3 separate regions of the Homo sapiens genome follow, and all the other regions are linked to region 2. Evidence: promoter capture Hi-C in 16 types of primary human blood cells and fetal thymus (Javierre and others, 2016). All regions are on one chromosome and are shown on one strand. The core of a region is centred on a gene start or on the middle of the fragment in contact, and the rest is flanking DNA. Distances in the headings are between cores, read along the strand shown. Region 1 overlaps SMC1A (structural maintenance of chromosomes 1A). Region 2 holds the start of HSD17B10 (hydroxysteroid 17-beta dehydrogenase 10). Region 3 has its middle 49 kb from the start of HSD17B10.

The links. Contacts are between HindIII fragments. The CHiCAGO score rates a contact against its expected background, and 5 or more counts as called.
Region 1: a fragment that was not itself captured here is called in contact with the fragment with the promoter of HSD17B10 in region 2 in 1 of 17 cell types (monocytes); the score reaches 5.5 in monocytes.
Region 3: a fragment that was not itself captured here is called in contact with the fragment with the promoter of HSD17B10 in region 2 in 1 of 17 cell types (M2 macrophages); the score reaches 5.7 in M2 macrophages.

What each region holds. Positions count from the first base shown.
Region 1 is chrX:53,373,814-53,378,580 of GRCh38, reverse strand. It overlaps SMC1A (structural maintenance of chromosomes 1A), which reads left to right. Exons shown (of 25, transcript NM_006306.4): 25 at 1-4,432. Among named protein-coding and RNA genes, the nearest start is that of MIR6857, 30 kb to the left of the region's middle. The HindIII fragment of the contact is 1,444 bases long and covers 1,037-2,480 here.
Region 2 is chrX:53,432,639-53,437,140 of GRCh38, reverse strand. It overlaps HSD17B10 (hydroxysteroid 17-beta dehydrogenase 10), which reads left to right and starts at 2,771. Exons shown (of 6, transcript NM_004493.3): 1 at 2,771-2,822; 2 at 3,255-3,419. The coding sequence starts at 2,796. The HindIII fragment of the contact is 11,572 bases long and covers 1,476-4,502 here.
Region 3 is chrX:53,480,383-53,485,432 of GRCh38, reverse strand. No RefSeq gene overlaps it. Among named protein-coding and RNA genes, the nearest start is that of HSD17B10, 49 kb to the right of the region's middle. The HindIII fragment of the contact is 2,766 bases long and covers 364-3,129 here.

The DNA.
Region 1 (4,767 bases), core at 509-3,008, 58 kb after region 2:
CTTCCCTTCTTAGTGGCTGTTGTTTGTTGTACTTCCGTTTAGACTTTGTTTTAATGCTTGTACGTACATATGTGAACTCATTGGAAATATTGTGTGTTTAATGCAAATGATATATTGAATTGTTTAGCAATTTGTTTTCTTTGCTTAACGATGTTTTTGAGATCTGTGCATGTTACTTAATGTAGCTCAATCCATCTTCTGTAATTGCTGTATAGATTGTCATCATATGATTACCACATTTTACTTACGCATTTCTTTTGTGATGGACATTAAGACTGTTTTTAGGTTTTGCTATTACAAAATACTACACAGGAGCATCACTATGCCTGTGTGAAAGTATATGTATGAAAGTTTACCTAGGGTTGATTCCTAGAAGTGGAATTGCAAAGTCATAGGATATTTATATATTGGTTTTTAATAATACTTCCAAATTGCCCTCCTGTACTATTTACTCAGTATTTTTCTTGAGGTTGATCTGAGGTCTAACATTGTTATCCTATATCATTTTCATCCCAAGTAGTGATATCTGTGAAATCACAGGTTTGATGTGTGCTAATTATGTATTCTTCTAATACATATTAAAAGACATAACTATCAAAACAAAATAAATTTGTCTGTTTTCAACCAAAGAAGTCACGTACCACTGGTGGTACTGTGTGCCATAATTTGGCAAATGCTGGCCTTTATGGACGAGCACAATTCGGGGGTCAGACCTGGTTCAAATTCTAGCTGTAGAAACTTGTGCAAGTTACTTCACCTCTGAGCCTAAGTTTCCACATCTGTAAAAGGAGATAATAAACACCTACCTTGCAGTAGTGAAGCAAAGAGAAAATTAAATATATATGAAGCAATTTGGCTGGCATCTAGATCATTCACAGCCCTTTAAAGGTCACCTTTGCTGTTCTCCCCACTTTACAGATAAGGAAACTGAGGCCCAAAAAGGTTTGAACCCAGGTCTTCCAAGTCATTCAAGTGCTTTCTCCACTGTACAGGTGGTTATCAACCTTGGCTGCGCATCAGAATCGTTTGTAAAGCTTTTTCTTTTTCCTTTTTAAAAAGTAAAGCAATATATACACAGGTAAAAAAATAAAATAGTACAGAAGGGCTTATAATGAGAAGCAGCAGTTCCCTGCTTGCACCCCCACATCCAAAGGATGTGGAGCTCTTTAAAAATAAATTGCTCTGGTCCCACCTCTGGAAATCTGATTCAGCCAGCATGGATAATAACCCAGATAACTAACCCCTACCTCACAGGATAAAAAGGATTACATGAGATGCCTTAGGCTAAGGCCCTGGCACACAGGAACACATGTGCTACAAAGGAGCTTTGGGGACTTAAGTCCTGAGGATCCAGGAGGTGAGGTGACTTGTCCAAGATTCCACTGGTTTAGTGGCAGAGCCTAGACTTCCACTCGGATCTATTTAGTGCTTGCCCCCTGCTCTCTCCTGTCGTGCCCCACCACCTCCTGGCATCACAGGGCAACCGTTGTCAAGGCTATGCTCACGGGAGGCTGGGCACCACAGTGTTTCCAAGAGCAAGCTGGATCCGAGTAGATTCCCTAGGGCTTGTTGGAGGAACTAGTTTGACTCCCTTATACTGTGGACGCAGTAGCCTTGCTGTAGGGAGTTGAAGAGTACTCCACAACAGTATCTTAAGTTTAACTGGGCACTTCCCTCTGGAAATCACAGTGTTGTGCACCAGGAACACAAAGATGAGTCAAATCTTTATCCTGCCTTTGAGGAGCTCACTGTTTAGTTGGGGAAACCATTTGTAAAACAGCCATTAACCATACAGTGTGATCAACACTGACAGGAGCACAGGAAAAACATCTAGCTTATGTGAAGATTCAGAGAAGGCATCCTGTAGTCTAGGTGGTGATACCTGAACTGAGTCTTGAGGGACGGGTAGGAATTAGCCAGTTGAGGAAGTAGAAGGAATTTCCAGATATTGGAAACAGTATGCATGAAGACATGAAGGCAAGAAACAGCAAAACAAATACTGAAGCATGAAGATTCCTGGGGTGGGGGGAAAGCAGCAAGAAAAGGTAGAGAGGAACCAGATTGGAAGAGGGTCGTAAATGCATGGCTACAGAATTCAGATTTGTTTTGTAGGACAGTGTGGTTCCCAAACTGGCTGTATACCACAAACAGGTACGGCATTCTGGGCCCCGGCCCCTAAAACATTCATTAAGTCTGGGGTGAAGATTTGGAATCTTGAATGCTTATAAAGGTTACCACATGACTAGGGTACAGCCAGATTTGGAAACCATAGCTTGAAGGCAGTGAGGGAGCCATGAAATGGTTTTTAATAGGGGGACTCCAGATCAGATGTGAACTTAACCTGTTTCTGGCTGGCTAGCCAACCAGCATGGAAAACAGATTAGGTTAGATGTTCATGCTGTATGTGCCCGTGCCTGTAGCTTCCCTGTTAATCAGCTTCTTACACTACTATATTTGCTTATTTTGTCTCTGAATAAGCTTTAGGCACCACAAGGGTGGGCCTGGGGATATTTTGCTTACCAGTATAGCCCCTGCAAAAAAGCACAGTGCCTGACACAAAACAGGCACCCAGTAAAGTTTTTGAATGAATGAATGCATGAGTGAATCCATTTGTGAGAGAGCGAATGGAGATGACAAGATTAGCTAGGAGACTGGAAAAAGACCAGGAGGCCTGCACTAGGGCAAAGGCCAGTAGGAATAGATTGGAGGTGTTAAGGTGTGAACTGTTAAGGTAAGATGATAACTTAATGACTGATTATTGGATGTGGAGGGTGACTGAGAGGATAGAATGAGTACCCATGAATAGCCATGATTCCTACCCTGTCCCAGTCATCTCTTTCCTTATCCATCTCTGAAACAATCTGCTTACATCCTCCTCAGCAACTGGAATTCCTCAAGTTAGTTAGACATTCTGTGTGCTGTGTGGTCTCTCACTGCCCCCCCACTCCCCACCCCTCCACAAGCCATTGATTCATTCATCCAGTTCAATAAATCTTGGCTAAGCACCTCCAGTGTGCAGTAAGGCTCTTCCAAGCCAGGACTCTGACTCCCTCTTTCCTACCTCAAGAGATGTTTTTGAGGGCTTTCCCAGGTAAGAGTCACATCTCTTATACAATAACTTATAGTGAGATACCCAGAATGTCAGACTTGTAAGGGAAGACTGCCCAAACCCCTTCTGAGGTCCTCAGAGGGGAATTAACTTCCTAAGGTCCGACTGCTAGGAAGTGTTGGAGCCAGAAATGGAAGCTAGGTTTCCTTTCTATGTCATCTCTGGAGTCTTGATCTTGATCTATCCCATTGTAGATCAGGACAGGCAGAGGTGGTCAGGGAGAAGGTGGGACTTAGGTTGAACCTTGAAGGTCAATGTATTGGACAGGTCAAACAAGATGGTTGCCAATTACACTGCCCCCTTCTGGAAACCCTTAGCAAACCTGCCATGCTTGCAGTCCCTTCTAAGGGGTTTCCTTAGCATAAGTTGCCATGCTCTGTACCATGTGACCTCACAATCCTGGCCACAGATAGCTAGATGTGGATAGTGTCTGGTTCAAGGGCAACCAATCTCTAGGCTGGCCAGTGGCCTGTTAGCTGGACTGGCATAAGGACTTCACCTTACAGGGGTGGCATGTATCAAATGGCAAATGTATGAAACAACCAGATCTTTCAGGGAGGCAGAATGTGAGCTATTCAGAAGAAGTGAACGTTAATTAGAATTTAATGAGGCATTAGTGGTGGTGGATGAGGGGTGGCCAGAAACTAAACAGCAAAAGCAAAGAGAAAGCTGCAGAAACCATAAGTAAGCAGAGGTCATGAGACATTTGTATAATGAGATCACGGAGCCACAGGGTGGCAGAAGCCATGAAGCAGCAAGGCAACAATGGGCTAGAAGCCATGAAGCAATAGGAGCCACGAGGAACAGAAACCGTGAGACAAAACTGACTATGAGATCCACAAAGCAGCAGAAGGCTTGAATAGATAAGATCATGAGACAGTAGAAGCGATGAGACTGCAAGAACCACAAGGTAGCCAGAACCATGTGGCAACATGGCAACAGGAATGGAAGAGGCAGCAGGAGCTACAATGCAGAAAAGCCATGGATTAATAGGAACTGAAGCGCCGGGAGCCATGAAGCTGCAGGACCCATGAGGCAGAAAAAGCCATGGGCTAGCATCGAGGGGGGCAGAAAGAAGTTAGTCAGTAGCAGTAGGAGGAGTATAAATACAGCCAGAAAGGAGTTGAGTCACCAATTTGGGAAGCACTAGAGAAGGGAGCAACAGATGCCTGCAGCTGAGGGGGTGACAAGATAAGCCAGGCTCTAGAGCTGCTTTGGATCATGAACCATTTTCAAGTTTCTGTTCTTCCATGAGGCTGCCTGTGTAGCTGTTCTTGTCTTCCTTATTTCCCTGTGAATGCTTTAATAAATCCCCATCACTAACCTGTGTGTGTCTTTGTTCCTTGGAATCTAAAAGGTTAACACTGGTGTGCAGTTTAGATAACAGGAAAGCAGGGCAAGAGGTCTTCCTGGTGGGGTTGAAGCAAGACACAGAGGTGGGAATTCACTCATCCTTTCCTGCCTCACTGGCATGGGCACCTTTCATTCACTTACTTATTTTTATCATTCATTCATCCACTCATTTATTTATTACCTTATATATGCACTAACTCACAACTTCACTCACTTATTCATTAATGCATTAATGTAAGCATTTACCAGTTCATTTGCTCTTTCCTGTATTCACTCATGCATCATTTTTCCATCCATTTGTTCAG
Region 2 (4,502 bases), core at 1,522-4,021:
TTTGTAATCCTACTTATAGGACGCATGCATTATTCTGGGAAGGGGTTCCTAAGACTTCACCAGACTCCCATAGGTGTCCGTAGCATAGAAAAGGATGAGAAACACTGCTCTGAAGAGTAACCATAGCTAACACTTATATAGCTCTTGCTAAAGGCCAAGCACTGTTCCAAGTCCTTTTTAAATACATAGTTGTTAACTCATTTATTCCTAACAACCCTACGAATAGTCATTTGTTTATACTCATTTTACAGAAGAGGAAACTGAGGCACATCAGTTAAGTAACTTGTCCAGGGTCATTCGGCTAGTAAATAATAGAGCTGAGGCTGGGCGCGATGGCTCATGCCTGTAATCCCAACACTTTGGGAGGCTGAGGCAGGGCGGATCACCTGAGGTCAGGAGTTCAACACCAGACTGGCCAACATGGTAAAATCCCATCTCTACTAAAAATACAAAAATTAGCCAGGCGTGGTGGCCCATGCCTGTAATTTCAGCTACTCTGGAAGCTGAGGCAGGAGAATTGCTTGCACCCAGGAAGCGGAGGTTGCAGTGAGCCAAGATGCGCCACTGCACTCCAGCCTGGGCAGCGGGAGACTCCATCTCAAAAAAAAAAAAAAAAGCGGTAGAGGGGAAGAGATCCAAGACAACTCGAGAACATGGTCAGAGAGAGAAAAGATGGTGTGTAGATGCTGGGGAGGGCAGGAGGTTATTCCAGGGAATGACAAGTGCAATAAGGTGGCCTGGACAGGTGGTTAAAGTAGAGAGGAGGTGAAGGTTCCCGGAGTTGGGCAGGTGAAAGAATCATGAAACTGTGCCTGGAAATTCTTCCAAGATTAATTCATTAATTCATTTATTTCACACATTTGTTTTAAGTGTCTTGTACACGCCAAGCAGTGTTCTCGGCATTAGGTGAACCAGCTGGACAAGCCCCTGGTGCCATGGGGCTTACCTTCCAGCAGGGGGAGAACTACACAAACAAGGCCAGGTTAGCGGAGCATGCAGGCTCACAAGCCTGTAGGCACAATCCTGCAATGCCAAAACTTCTGAAAAGCATAAGGTTGTTTTTTCATACTTTGGAGCCCAAACTCAATAGATGACAAAACCTGACCTGAAGTAGTGTGAGGCTATTTATAGTCTTTATTCACACTTGGTGTGAATTTTCATACCTTTCACTTCAGAAATATTAATATTTCATTACGATGCTCCAGGCTTTTCTCAATAGTTATATAATATAGACTATACAAAAAGTTATGTTTGACTAGTTTTTTTAAAGAGTTATGTAATATAAATTACATGTCTTCCTTTCTCAAATTGAAAAAAACTCTGAATTCCACAGCACATCTGGCCCTAAGGTTGGAAAATGGATTACGGACATGCAAGTGCTATGAAGATAATTCAAATATGCAATGGGATAGTGTCTAGGTGGCTACAGTTTGAATATTTAGGGAGGACCCCTCTGGGAAGGTGATATTTAAGCTTAGTTCTGAATGAAAAAAAATAAAAGCAGTCATGCAAAGATCAGGGGAGAGCATTCCAAGCAGAGGGAGCAGCTAATGCAAAGATGAACACAAAGGAGGCCACTGTGGCTACAGCATATTGGGCCGGATGAAGAGTGCTATAAATTGATGGAAGCACTTCATGTAGATAGGAAAATTGTGAGACCGGTGTGCTAAATCCTTTGGTAAATACGGTGTAGTGATTATGAGTGTGGTGGCTGTCAACAACTAGAAGGCCTGGAGGGGAATCTTCCTGGGTGAGAAAGCAAGTGGGGGGAGATATTTCAGATAGAGAAAACATAAAGCAGTTCTGAGGCTGAAATGGTGGGCTAAGATTTATGGCCTGAAGACCTTGGTTTGAGGAAAAGTATAGAAGGAAGACAGATTAGATATCTGGGCTCAAGACTCTAATGACATAGCTTCTGGAAGCTGCCTGAAAGATGTTCTAGGATGACAAAGACCTGGGTCTTAAATAATAGTCTCTGGTTGAAGTCCAATCTGCAGTGTGTGATCTGGGCTTTTGGACTTAAATTAGACAAAGATAGAGGAGAGTAGCAAAGCCTGAACTGATGAAAGATGTTTTTGCCTCTTTAGGTTTGTGCTTCTCAGCAGCTGTCCTAGAATGTCTGTCTCCAAGCATCTCTCTTAGCGGCTTTCCACATTCATCTCTCTGTGATCCTACCTGGCATCTCTCTTCCTATCTCGGCCTCAACATATTTCTCTTTACATGGCTCTCTCTCTCTCTAACTCAGACTCCTCATCTTTGGATCTCCTTGTCTGAGTGTCCCAGAATCTGGTTCCGTCCATTCGTCTGTGTCTGTACTGTAATTCTCTTTCTCCACCTGGACTGTGCCCTCCTGGAAGGCATGAATCTTTTATTATTCCGCTGGGTATCCCAGGTGCCCCGCACACCGTCTAGCATATAGGAGTCTCAAATACATTCATACTTGAATTAAGACTTTTTCAGAGGAGAAAGGCATCCGTTCTCAATATCCACCCCTCTTCCCCCACGCGGAGCAGGCCACTTGCCAAAAGGCCAGCTAGAGAGTAGGGCGAGGGGTGTTGTGGTATTGTACTTCTGCTATTGGTCTCTTTCCCCAGTTGAAATAACTCTGGGGATACCTTAGCAGGCGGAATCCGCCCTCTGGCCAAAGGACTAGCGTACCAGGCCACGCCCCCACGTCTCATGCGGCAGCGGCAGACGCCCCGGCCCGTCGCATCCGCCCCTTCCGCCGCTTCGCCTCGGCCAATCAACGAGCGCCCGCGCCCCCATCCCCATCCCGTGGAGTGGCCGGCGACAAGATGGCAGCAGCGTGTCGGAGCGTGAAGGTAGAAGGTTCTTTGCCTCTGTTGCTTGCCTTCCTTTACGGGCCGGGACAGCGCGGCCGTGGAACTAGGAGAAAGAGATCGGTTTCGAGGGAAAGGGTCATGCTTATGTAGGCCTGGTATTGTGGCCGTTGGGCTCAAGAGGTGAAAGTCAGCACTCCGCGGCGCATCTGTCTGTCTGTCTGTCTGTCTATCTATCTATCTATCAATCATCTATCTATCTATCGTCACGGGACGGGCTGTCTGGGGATGAGATCCCTTCTGCCCCCGAGGTCCCAACGCTGAGGAGAAGCAGCACACCTAGTTTACCCGCAGGGGTGACCACGACCTCTCCCCTCCCCCCTTCTCCTCAGAAGCCTGGAGAACAGGCAGGCGACAGCGTGGGGATGGTCTGGGCAATGTAACAGCTGACCCTGACCATGTCCCTTTTGACAGGGCCTGGTGGCGGTAATAACCGGAGGAGCCTCGGGCCTGGGCCTGGCCACGGCGGAGCGACTTGTGGGGCAGGGAGCCTCTGCTGTGCTTCTGGACCTGCCCAACTCGGGTGGGGAGGCCCAAGCCAAGAAGTTAGGAAACAACTGCGTTTTCGCCCCAGCCGACGTAAGTGGGGTCACCTCTCCTCTCCCAGGGTGTGCATGAGGTCACCAACACCGGCCTGGGAACCTGTGGGGGTCCCTCCCATAAGGGTCTCCTCTATGGGGGCGGTAGACCCATCTCCTTGTCTCTTTTGGCCTGAGCCTTCAAGCACTGTGGGACCACCTGTGATAAGGATTCTCTAAAGCTGGGATTCACAACAATGAGGATGGGGATTGGACGTAACAATCTCCTGGAGGAGTTATGTATGGTTTGAAAATGCATTTTGTGCCTTGTAATTTTATATTTACAAAGTCAAAAAACTTGTTTTCATGAAACAAACTACAGAAAGTGAAACTTGATGAAATCATCTTAGCAGGTAAGGATACAAAAAAGCTAGTTTATCTTCCTATCAATAATTCTCACAAGAGGGTTATTTTTTATTTTTATTTTTGAGATGGAGTCTCGCTCTGTTGCCCAGGCTGGAGTGCAGTGGCACAATCTCAGCTCCTTGCAACCTCCATCTTCTGGGTTCAAGCGATTTTCCTGCCTCAACCTCCCAAGTAGCTGGGATTACAGGCACCTGCCACCACGCCCAGCTAATTTTTTTTTTTGTATTTTTAGAAGAGATGGGGTTTCACCATGTTGGCCGGGCTGGTCTTGAACTCCTGATCTCACGTGATCCGCCCGCCTCGGCCTCCCAAAGTGCTGGGATTACAGGTGTGAGCCACTGCACCCAGCCTCACAACAGGGTTGCATTAGTGCTCTGATCCACAGCAATTAAGAATCTTCAGGAGCATGTGAATTTATCAAGAAGGTATTGATTTGAAAAATGTTTTTGCAACACTGCTCTATATTACCTAATATTTTCACCTTTGACCTACTCTCTCAATTTTTTTTTTTGGGACAGAGTCTCACTGTTGCCCAGGCTGCAGTGCAATGGCACGATCTCAGCTCACTGCAACCTCTGCCTCCCGGGTTCAAGCGATTCTTCTGCCTCAGCCTTCCAAGTAGCTGGGATTACAGGCATGTGTCACTATGCCGGCTAATTTTGTATTTTTAGTAGAGACGGGTTTTCACCACGTTGGCCAGGCTGGTCTCAAACTCCTG
Region 3 (5,050 bases), core at 497-2,996, 49 kb before region 2:
ATCACCCAAGGTTCCCAGTTTTGAATAGAACCAGACAAGAGAAAGCTCTGCAATTCAGACTGCAATACAAGCTGCTCTTCCACTTGACCCAGCAGATCCCATGAAGTGTCTGTGACAAATAAGAATATTGTATGGAGTTTCTAGCAAGCACCAATGAGAGAATCACAGGGTAAGCCTCTAGGACTTTAGAGCAAGTATGTGCTCTCTTTCGCAGAAAACTATTCTCCTTTCAAGAAACAGCTCTGGCTTACTGCTGGGCCTTGGCAGAGATTGAAACACCTAACCATGAGATATTAGGTGACCATACAGCCTGAGACTCTCATCATGAACTGGTGTCTTCTTTGACCCACATAGCCATAAGCTTAGGCATGCATAGCAGCAATCTATTATTGGATGAAAATGGTACATAAAAGACTAAGTTGAGCAGGTCCAGTAGGTACAAGTAAGTTGCATGAGCAGATAATTCAGACTCTTTTGACACCAACTCCTGTTGCTTTGCCTCCTCTCCTTCAATCCATGCCTATGATATCACAGAGTGTTCCTATGACCACTTGACTGAGGAAGGAAAACTGAAGCCTACCTTATATATGGGTCTGCATGTTATACTGGTACCATCCAAAAGTAGACAGATGCAGCACTACAACTGTACTCAGGGGTGACTGGATGACAATGGTGAAGGAAGATCCTCTCCAGTGGGCAGAACACTGAACAGTATGTTTAGTTGTCCACTATGTGTGGAGTAAGAGATAGTCAGAAGTATAGATCTACACTGACATGTAGTTAGGGACTTGAAAAGAACAAGATTGAAAGATTGGCGACAAGGAAGTCTGAGGAAGAGAAATGTGACCAGCCTTCTCTGAGTGGGGACAGACTGAAGATATTTGAGTCCTATGTGAATGCCCACCAAAAGGCATACATTGCATAGGAGACTGTTATGAATCCAGGGGACAAAATGATGTGGTCTGTTGATGTGCATCAGCCTCTTTCACCAGCCACTCCAGTATTTGCTCAATGGGCCCATAAAGAAATAGGCCATGGGCAGGGACAGAGACTATGCCTGGGCTCAACAACATGGACTTCCCCTTACCAAGGGTGGCATGGTTGCTGAGTGCCTAATCTGCCAACAGCATCAACCAAAATTGAGTCCCTGATATGGCACTATTCCCTATGGGGACCAGCCAACCACCTGGTGACAGGTTGATTACATTGGAAGTCTTCCATCATGGAGGGGGACAGAGATTCAGTCTCACAGAAACAGATGTATTTTCTGGATATAGTTTTCCCTACTCTGCCCATAATCCTTGTGCCAGCACTACCATCTGTAGACTCTTCTGCACGGCTTTGCTTCTGGTTCGCAGCAAAGTAAGTGCAGCAATGGACTCATGCCTATGGAATTAACTGGTCTTACCACATACCACATCATGTTAGAGTAGCTGGCCTACTTGAAGGGTGAAATGGCTTACTGAAACTTGGTTTTGATGCCAGTTGGGAAATAACATCTTGAAACAATGGTATACTATTTTTTGGAATGTAATATATACTTTGAGCTAGAGACTATTATACAGCACTATCTCTCCCATAGCCAGAATAAATGGGTCCTGAAACCAAGGGGTAGAAGTAGGAGTAGCTCCTCTCATTATTACAACTAATAACCTACTCACAGAATTTTTGCTTCCTGTCTCAGCAATTTTGAGCTTTGCTAGTTTGGAGATCTTAGTCCTCAAAGGGAGACTGTTTCTTCCAGGGGACACAACAATAATTCCAGTGAATTGGAAAGTGAAAAATGTGTGACATTTTGGGCTCCTTATGCCAATGAAACCACAAGCCAAAAAAGGGGATGAGGTAAGACTTAATTTACTGGCTCGAGTGATTGATCCTAATTACCAAGTGGAAGTTGAGCTGTTGCTACACAAGGGAGGCAAAGAGGACCATGTTTGCAACCCGGAGAATTATCTGGGGTGCCTCTTAGTACTTCCATGCCTAATAGTAAAGTTTTGTTATTGTTGTTGTTGTTGTTTGTTTTGTTTTTTGTTTTGAGACGGAGCCTTACTCTGTCACCCAGGCTGGAGTACAGTGGCACGATCTTGGCTCACTGCAACTTCCGTCTCCCGGGTTCAAGTGATTATCCTGCCTCAGGCTCCTGAGTAGCTGGGACTACAGGCGCATGCCACCACGCTTGGCTAATTTTTGTATTTTTAGTAGAAACGGGGTTTTGCCATGTTGGTCTCAAACTCTTGACCTTAGGTGATCTGCCTGCCTTGGCCTCCCAAAGTGCTGGGATTACAGGTGTGAGCCACCGTGCCTGGCCCCCATAGTAAAGATTAATGGTTAAACTCCATTAAAAGGTTAAACTCTAGTAACTCAAAACAGGCAGGATGATCAAGTACTCAGACCCTTCCAGAATGAAAGTTTGGGTGACTCCTTCAGGTAGAAAAGAGCATCTGAGGTTCTGAATGAAGGCAGGGGAAATGCAGAATGGATAATAACAGAAGAAGGAAGCCATAGATGTCAATTACAGCCTTGAGATCAATTACAGAAATGAGTACTATATTACCTTTCCTCATTTGCCTTCTGCTTGTTATATGTATGTGTTTATTTGCATAATCTAGCCATGTTCTTTTTCTCTTTTTCCCATTTTTATTTTATATACAAGAAGTTGGAAGGTAATTTTACAATTTACTCTTTAGGTACTAGGATATCAGCAGGACCATGGCTAAATTTGAGGAGTAATTAATACAGAAAGTGATGTGTCTTCTCATTTGGGTGAAAGGGTAACAACTTCCTCCCTTGTAAGAAGGATAGCTATATCTTGTTGGGTAGGAGTAAAGTTGTGTTATTCTCTTTTTTTTGAGACAGAGTATTGCACTGTCACCCAAGCTGGAGTGCAATGGCGGGATCATAGCTCACTATAACCTCAAACTCCTGGCCTCGAATGATCCTCCCACCTCGCCCAAGCTGTTTTGTTGTACAAGAATTCAAATATGTGCACATGAAAGCCAAGAAGTCAAAGGGGTGGACTGTACCACTTACCAATTTTTACCTCTCAGCTTCAAATTCACTCTTCTGCCTGCTCTGTGAAAACAGATCTGGTCCCTTTACTTGTTTCCTTTGCCACCTGGCACTGAAGCTTTGCCAGTAGAGGGCACTGGAGAGACATTTCAAGAAGGAAAAAGGTTTTGCTTCCCGGTGCTGGAGTGCCCACTTTGCAGGTTACTGCAGTGTCTGCAGCTTTCTATAGCAACAGAGTCCTACAACTTCTCCAGTGCCTGGCTCCCACAGTGTGTGGTGACCAGCAGCACCCAGTAGCCAGCAGCCTCCCTCTGGAATTCCCCATCAGATGGGTTAGTAGCAGTTTGCCTCTGGCTCCTGAAGGACTCACAGCTTCTCCATTTTCCAGCTTTTGTAGTGCAGGGCAGCCAACAGCACCCAGTAGCCAGCAACATCCCCTGGCACTCTCCCTCAGGTAGTTTTGTGGCAGAGTGCCTCCAGTGAGACACCTCCCCATGAACAGCTTTCACTGGCACTCTAGATGGTGGATTTCTGGCAAGTTCCAGCAAGCAGATTTCCAGCAAATTCTGCCATTCAAAGAGTCACAGCCGTATTCTCTCCAAGGACTGATCTCAACCCTGAACTAAGGTGGGTGCAGGGACAACAGGGAAGGGTCTTCCTTTGGTGCTCGATTTCAGTCATACTCATGCTTTCCTATGCCTTTTTTTTTTTTAAGAGAGAGAGACAGGGTCTCACTCTGTCACCCAGGCTGGAGTACAGCAGAGCTGTGATCACAGCTCACTGCAGCCTCAAACTCCTGGGCTCACATGATCCCCCTGCCTCAGCCTCCCGAGTAGCTAGGACTACAGGCACATGCCACCATTCCCCGCTCCTATACCTTCTTGAATGTATGGAATATATTTATAACAGCTGTTTTCACGTCCTTTTTCTACTCATTCTATCATCTGGATCATTTCTGGGTCATGTTCTGTGGATTATTTTTCCCCTCATTATGGGTTGTATTTTCCTGTTTCTTTGCATGCTTGATAATTTTTTATTGGGCGTCAGATGTAAATATTGAAACGGGAAAAGTTCCCTATCCCCTTAGCAGGGTGTGAGAGCGGGGTGTGGCTCGCTTCTTTGGTGCACCACTGCTCAAACCTCTAGGGGGAGCATGCAGATGGGCAGGTTGTGGGGCTCCAGCCCCACGGCAGTGTCTAGGAGTGAATGTTTACAGCTGAAGCCCCAGTGGGCATGTGTTACAGAATGCTCTTTTAGTTTTGCTGTCTGTAGGCAGTTTGTGTTAATCAGCTCAATTAGACCCTTTGCCTTATCCCAAGGACAGAGGGCTTTCTGTATCCCAGGGTTCTTGCCTTGGTGTACTGGAAGAACCGGATCACATGTGGGCTTGGAGAAAGAGTGCAAGGTTTTTTATTGAGTGGTGGTAGCTCTCAGCAAGGTGGATAGGGAGGCCAGAAGGGGGATACAGTGGGAAGGTGGTTTTCTCCTGGAGTTGGGCCGCCCAGCAGCCAGACTCTCCTCCAACCCCCAGCCAAACTCCGTGTCATTCCACCAGTTGATGGCCTGCCGGCATCTGCCGGTGCCTGTTGGTGTGCTCTTCTGCAGGTGTGCTCTTCTTGATGTCCAGCTGTTTGTGTCTGTGCCCCCTAGGGTCTCGGGGTTTTTATAGGCGCAGGATGGGGGCGTGACAGGCCAGGGTGGTCTTGGGAAATGCAACATTTGGGCATAAAAACAGAAATGCCTGTTCTTACCTAGGTCCGTGGGCACAACCCCAGGGTGGGACCCCTAGCCAGGGACCCACCCTTCTCTACCCAGCACTTCCCTACCCCACTCCCATATCAATATTACCTTATTGGGTGCTGACTTTTTTGTACTTAAAAATTTTTTTGTTTTGTTTTTGGCCGGGCATGGTGGTTCATGCCTGTAATCCCTGCACTTTGGGAGGCTACTAAGGGGGCTGAGGCAGGAGAATAGCTTGAACCTGGGAGGTGGAGGTTGCAGTGAGCTGAGATCATGCCACTCCAGCCTGGGCGACAGAGTG